Linked DNA regions of Homo sapiens: region 2 is linked to region 1. The links are contacts of gene promoters, found by promoter capture Hi-C in blood cells and fetal thymus (Javierre and others, 2016). All regions are on one chromosome and are shown on one strand. Each heading gives the region's core, a stretch centred on a gene start or on the middle of the fragment in contact. The rest is flanking DNA. Distances are from core to core; before and after follow the strand shown. Region 1 holds the start of NEGR1 (neuronal growth regulator 1). Region 2 has its middle 22 kb from the start of ERICH3.

Region 1 (3,482 bases), core at 471-2,970:
CACTCTCTTTCACCTTAGACATGTCATGTACACTGATGTTGTGCAAGCCAGACTTACAAGCCAACTACCACCCAGTGGAGAAAAAGAAGATCTTTCAGGGAAATGTGAGGTGGGGTGGCAGGGGGAGAAGGGAGGGTGATGGGAAAGAAATGAAGGAATAGGGCGTTTAGCTTTGTTTAGATCTAAGCTTTGCTGATCATCCATTTATATTTTCATAGGAAATAAAATATTCCCAGACTCCCACTCTGCAGTGTTGCTTAGGGGTAAAATCAGGGTATGGATGTTTATTAATGACAAACCACCTCAGAGCTCAAGCTCAGAGGAAAGAAGGGAAAATGAGAAAAATAAGTAAAAGTGAAGACTGATGGAGGGAGGAAGGTAGGAATAAAAAGGGGATAGAAAGACACAGAAAGAGAAAAAGAGAGAAGCAGAGACAGAGTGAGAGCAGCGAGTGAGACAGGCAGTGTGTACACATGTGTGAGTGACAATGTGGAACAGAGAAGGAGAGTATGCCTTTTAAAAACAGTGAGAGACAATCTGAATGTGGAAGTGGTTCTTACAGCATGGAAGTGCCAGTGCATGTGAGGATGTGAGAGTATGTGAGTTAGTATGTTTATGGAAATAAGATTTATGAGGGTGAGTAAATGGTACTGGAGGGGAACAGTGACCATGCCTGTGTGTGCCACAGGGGTGGGAAACGGTATGGGGAGAGGGATGAGAAATGGGAGTCAAAAGAGGGAAGACAGGGCACAGGATAGGGACATTAAGGAGGAATAAAAAAAATAGACAAAAAGAAAAAAGGGTAAAAGAGAGGAGGAAAGGGGATTAAATGTGAGGAACAGAAATTAGAGTCGTGGAGATAAAAATGAGAAAATATGAGAAGAAATTTTAAAAAGGAGGGAAAAAACAGAAAATAGAAAAGGTATGAAAAGAGATATTGGAGGGAAAAAGAGTTACAAGGAGGTGGGGAAAATGGTATAAGAGAATGAGGAAGGAGAAAAGAAAGAAAACAGAAAGCGGTAAAAGGAAAGAAAGATAAAGAGCAAGAAATCGAGCCTAAGTGTCCAAGTGAGAGGGAAAATAAATGGGAGCAGAGAACAGCAGTTTGAAAGAGTCGCTTATGCTGGAGTAAAATAGAAACAAACCTGATAAACTTGTCAGACTCTCCAGGAGTACCCCATGACAGTAAAACAGAGACCTTGTGCATTGAGTTTCAAAGTGGCACCTGCCCCTCCTTCTAAACCTGACAGTTCACTCATCCCCAGGCTACTTGGCGTTCCGGCAAAGTGCTTTAGCATCACGAGTCCAGCTTGCTACCTGCCCCAGCATAAACGGGCCGGGGCTCCGGGAAGAATCTGCACCTGGAATTCTTGGGATGTGGTCTTTCCATGATGAGCACCACCAGCATTATTGCTTGTGTTATAAAGAAGGCAAAGAGGGTTCAAAGAGAGACAGAAAGATAGACCGAAACAAGTACGAAAAGCACGCCGTTCTTCCTACCTAAGCACCGCCGTGTCCCCTTTTCTGACCATCATGTTGTCCACGGCCGCCCAGGGGAAGTCCACACTCTGTCCAGCCGGGAGGCAGGAGGGTAGCAGGCAGCACAGGCTGAGGAGCACCGCCGCCAGCCACTGGTTCGAGCAACAAGCACCCTGCACCAACAGCATCATGTCCATCCCTGCTAGGGCTGCTCACTCTCCAGCAGCTTTCAGCTCGCACTCCCCCACCCCCTGGTGCTGGCGAGTCTTCCCGGGAACCAGGCGGCGCGCCACAGGATTTTTTTTTTTTTTTTTTTTTTTTTTTTTTTTTGGTGGGTGGGTGGGTTTCTTTTCTTTCTTTCTTCCCCCCACCCCAGTTGTTGGGTGTTGTTTCTCTCTTTTTGTTTTTCGGTGTTTTTGCCTCCCCTCCTCCTCTTCGCTTTCCCTCCCTCCCTCCCCTCCCTCCCCCTGGCACCACACTACACCTCCTCTCGGTTGCTTTTGGCCGCGTCCGGAGTGTGTCTAATTCTCGGGCGGCTCGCACACCATCTAGCGAGGAGGCGAGCGCGCCGGCGAGTGAGGGAGGAGGCGCGGCGGCGGGGGAGGAGGCAGGGCGAGCGGCGGCGGCGGCGGCTGCAATCCCAGCAGCAGCAGCAGCAACAGCAACAGCAGCAGCAGAAGCAGCGCGGAGCGCTGCGCCGGCCGCCGGCTCCCGGGCTCGCGCGCGTTGCCAAGCGGCCGTTTCCTTAGCAACCCCGCCAGGGGACTGGGGATGGAGAAGGGAGGGGGATTAAAAAAATAATAAAAAAAGAAAGAAAAAAGATAGCAAGAAAAAAAAAAGAAAAGCAAGACAACGAAAAAAAAAATAGGAGGAACTGTATCACAATTATGCAAACTAAGGGGGAAAGAGAGGCACCTTAGAATGAAGGCTCTCCTTACTGTCGTAAGCGCTAGAGGGATTCTTTGCTAGAAAAGTCTCCGTGTCAGGGCTGGGGTGAAGAGAGCTGAGGGGCGCTTTGCCTTCCCTCACCGGTGCGTTTTACCTCTCGAGGCACCGTAAGTTTGAAGTCCTCCAAGTTGTGGTCGGCGCCATCATGACGCCGGCGACTGTGAGTTGTTTTTTTGTTTATTTTCTTCTAATCTTGCCTGGGTGGCTACGCTGCAGTTAGCGAGCAGCCAACTAGTTCTCTCTGCGTTTTCTCGGGAATAGGTAGGGACGGTGGCGGGGCGCTGCTTTTTTGCGGGGACACGAGGAGGTGCAAGGCCTTGCGGCAGAGCAGCTTGCGTGTTTGTGGCGGTCGGCCCGTATGGATTGCAGGACGCCCCTCTTTTATCTGTGGGTGTTGACACTAAGTTGTGTGTGTGAGTAGGGGATTGTTTATGGTCAACATGGAGTGTGTGTGTGATAGAGAGCGTGTCGTGCGCGCGGGGGCCTGTGCACGCGCGGCACGCAGGCGCGCTGGGAGGGACGGGGCGGGTCATGCTGGGATGTAGAGTCGGGAAAAGACTGCAATCAAGTGTTTTAATTGTGTAGAGCCCAGGCGGTCCAGTTATGTAAGAGGCAGTTTAACCCATTTGAGCCTATCAGGCCGAATAATCGGCGCATCCGAGTCAAGGCAGGGCAGAGTTAAGGGGTTTAACGAGTCGCAGGGTTGTATTTCTTAACAGCCTCCACACCGCGTTAACAGGCTTGCTCCTCCGCGGTGCAGAGCGGTAACCTCCGCTTCCCCACGCAGCAGCCCCTCCGCAGCTCGCCGGGCTGTTTTCAGCCCTGCCCTGGCCCAAGGCAGAAGGAGATACTAGGCGTGGGGCCACCCCTACTCTTTTTTCTTCTTTCCTTCTTGAACTCATTTCCAGATTCAAGATCCTTAAGCTTTTCCGGGCCATTTGCAAATCAATGCGAGAACCGAGGCTGAGTCGTTAGCAGTTACACCAATCAATCTTGTTCAGCGAGGAGTTTGGGAAGCAGAGCGGGGAAGTGAAAATGGAAAATAAGTAATTAAA
Region 2 (3,482 bases), core at 602-3,101, 2.4 Mb after region 1:
GATATCCTGCTAGAGTCCAAGGTTGCCACACTACTGAAAAATAAAGACTATACCCTAGTTCTGTCTCATCCTATATTGTTACGGTACTGAAAGGAACACAGAGAAAAGCCACCTGATCATTAGTGAGGTCAGAAAAGCCTTCTAAGTAAAAGTAACACCTACGGTAAACCTTCAAAAGTAATATACTGAAATTAGGCAAAGAAAGGAGAGAGAGTAAGGCATCCTGGCCTGAAGAAATAACATCTGTGAATTATTGTGATATTGTAATTTCCATGAAGAGAGAAACACAGGTCTTAGTGCCTTTGTCTTTAATAATAAAGTAGATTGAAATTTAACTGTCTGAATTTGTTACTAAAATATAAATATACACCCCTCTAGAAACAATGACAGAATGAGTTAATATGTGATATAACTCAATCAGGCAATGCAAATAATCAGCATGAAGGAATTACCTATAAGCACAAGACTGACGAACATCTAGTATTCCAGATTTTAACAAAAGAGATATGATTGCCTATAAACAACTTTTCCCATTTGTAGTATATAATTAAATAACTTATGTGGCAATTAAATTACATGCCAATTAAACAGAATTGCAAGTGCTAACATAACAAGTTAAAACAAGTGGAAGTTATTACTGAAACACATCAATTGCTTTTTTCTACTAAGTTGAATTGACATTTAAAAAATTAACACTGACCTATGTTATGCACTTTCAGTATTTAGAATGTGAGTTAGGCTGTTAAAAGTTTTAAAGGTAAAAAATTGAAAAAGGGTAAAAGAAGTAGATTCTTGTTTCACCTAAATAAAATAATAAACAAAAATAATTTTTAATAGATTGGTTTTACTTATTTTTTAATTCCTTTTTTTCTCTGAATAATCAAAAATAAGCTTTACTTTGAAGTAAGATGGCAGGTGCCCAGAGCTAAGCTTTGATTGCACATAAAACCAGCTTTTTCATACTTGATCCAAATGTCAAATGTCAAATTTCTACTTTACAGTTAATGTACAAACATGTATATATACACCTCTGTGTGTTCTTCTGTGATACAATTTAAATTTCAGATTAAATGTGTATACATACATATGTATGTATATATATACACACACATACATACACAAATATATTAACTTTTATTTAAAGTTCAGGGGTATATGTGCAGGTTTGTTACATAGGTAAACTTATGTCCTACAGGTTTGTTGTACAGATTATTTCATTGCCCAGGTATTGAGCCTAGTTCCCATTATTTTTTCTGACCCTCTCCCTCCTCCCACCCTCCATACTCTGACAAGCCCCAGTGTGTGTTGTTCCCCTCTGTGTCCATGTGTTCTTATTATTAACTCCCACTTATAAGGGAGAACGTGTGGTATTTGGTTTTCTGATCTTATGTTAGTTTGCTAAGGATAATGGCCTCCAGCTCCATCCATGTCCCTGCAAAGGACATGATCTCATTCTTTTTTATAGATGCACAGTATTCTGTGGTGTATATGTACCACATTTTCTTTATCCATTCTATCATTGATGAGCATTTAGGTTGATTCCACATCTTTGCTTATTGTGAATAGTGCTGCAGTAAACATATGTGTGCATGTGTCTATAATGGAATGATTTATATTCCTTTAGGTATATACCCAGTAATGGGATTGCTGGGTCAAATGATATTTCTATCTTTAGGTCTTTGAGGAATCACCATACTGTCTTCCACAAAGGTTGAACTGATCTACACTCCCACCAACACTGTATAAGCATTCCCTTTCTCCACAACCTCACCAGCATCTGTTATCTTTTGACTTTTTTTTTGGGGGGGGGGGTGGGGGAAGGAGTCTTGCTCTGTTGCCAGACTAGAGTGCAGTGGTGTGATCTTGACTCACTGCAACCTCCACCTCTCGGGTTCATGCGATTCTCCTGCCTCAGCCTCCTGAGTAGCTGGGATTACAGGCATCCGCCACCACGCCCAGCAAATTTTTTGTATTTTTAGTGGAGACGGGGTTTCACCATGTTGACCAGGCTGGTCTTGAACTCCTGATCTCATGTTATCCACCCGTGTCAGCCTCTGACTGGTGTGAGATGGTATCTCATTGTGGTTTTGCTTTGGATTTCTCTAATGATCAGTGACATATTAATCCTGAGAGAGAAAATTGTACAGGTAGGAAAACCTGGCCTGTTATAATCTTTCACTCATCAAACTTGAGTGCCTGGGGTATGCTAGGTCTTATCCATCATCTCAAGTTGCTTAAATTCTAGGGCAAAAAAAGTTAAAATTAAAATGAAAATATTCATTCCTCCTGATAAGCAACTGCACGAGTTTTACCTAGTCCATCTTTTTGTCTATTGTGAGGTTTATAGCAATTCCCTTTCCATCATGACTGGAGTGACATCTGATGAATAGCTGCTCCCACATTTCACTAACCTTCCAAGGGGAAAGATGCCTATCTCATCTTCTAAATACTGCACACAAAGACATACACAGATCATCCTAAAACTAATCAAATGATTAATTTTCAAATTTACTCAGAGAAAAGGTAATAAATGGAAATAAATGGCATGAGCAGAACTAGAGGCAGGAGAGTGCTGGGTTTGAAGGGCAAATTGGAGGGGGAGGCAGAACAGCACCTGCTCCTTATGATTGGCTACATCTACAATATACGAAGTAGTGAAAAAGCTGGAAGTTGAAGGTAGATTACAAGTTCCATCCAGGGCTAGGTTTCAATGAGTGACTTTTGAAGAAGGATGGTGATTCAAGATAATTGAGGGTACTTTAGTGACCAACTTAAGCTTGGTGGGATGTGAGAGCTGCTTAGGGCCTTTGGACTGAGATTGGCAATGAAAGATCAAATGAAGAGAGGGACTGAATGAGGTCAAAGAGCAGGGAAAATTGAAATGAGGGAAAATGATTGATACAGTCTGAATGTTTGCATGCCCCCCAAATTTACAGGTACAAGCACCTAGCGCCAAGGTGATGGTACTAGGAGGTGGGGTCTTTGGGAGGTGATTAGGTCATGAGTACCCAGAGAGCTAGCTCTGCCCTTCCACCATGTGAGGACACAATGAGAAGGCACCATCCATGAACCAGAAAGCACATCCTTGCCAGACACTGAATCTGTCGGACCCTTGATCTCGTATTTCCCAGCTTCCAGAACTGTTAGGAATAAATCTCTGTTGTTTAGAAGCCACCCAGTCTAAGGGACTTTGTTATAACAGCCCAAATGGACTAAGAACATGATTTTAATATCCACAACATTTTTTTTTTTTTTTTGAGATGGAGTCTCGCTCTGTCACCCAGGCTGGAGTGCAGTGGCATGATCTCAGCTCACTGCAACCTCCTTCTCCCAGGTTCAAGTGATTCTCCTGCCTCAGCCTCCTGAGTAGCTGGGACTACAGGCACATGCCACCATGCCTGGCTAATTTTTTTTTTTTTTTTGTATTTTTAGTAGAGACAGGGTTTCACTGTGTTAGCCAGGATGTTCTCAATCTCCTGACC

What was found. Contacts are between HindIII fragments. The CHiCAGO score rates a contact against its expected background, and 5 or more counts as called.
Region 2: a fragment that was not itself captured here is called in contact with the fragment with the promoter of NEGR1 in region 1 in 1 of 17 cell types (naive B cells); the score reaches 6.4 in naive B cells.

Annotation. Positions count from the first base shown.
Region 1 is chr1:72,280,819-72,284,300 of GRCh38, forward strand. It overlaps NEGR1 (neuronal growth regulator 1), which reads right to left and starts at 1,721. Exons shown (of 7, transcript NM_173808.3): 1 at 1,501-1,721. The coding sequence starts at 1,676. It overlaps LOC105378797 (a long non-coding RNA gene), which reads left to right and starts at 2,116. Exons shown (of 6, transcript XR_947506.3): 1 at 2,116-2,587. RefSeq lists silencers at 1,908-1,967, 2,068-2,157. The HindIII fragment of the contact is 3,164 bases long and covers 186-3,349 here.
Region 2 is chr1:74,694,093-74,697,574 of GRCh38, forward strand. No RefSeq gene overlaps it. Among named protein-coding and RNA genes, the nearest start is that of ERICH3, 22 kb to the left of the region's middle. The HindIII fragment of the contact is 1,846 bases long and covers 929-2,774 here.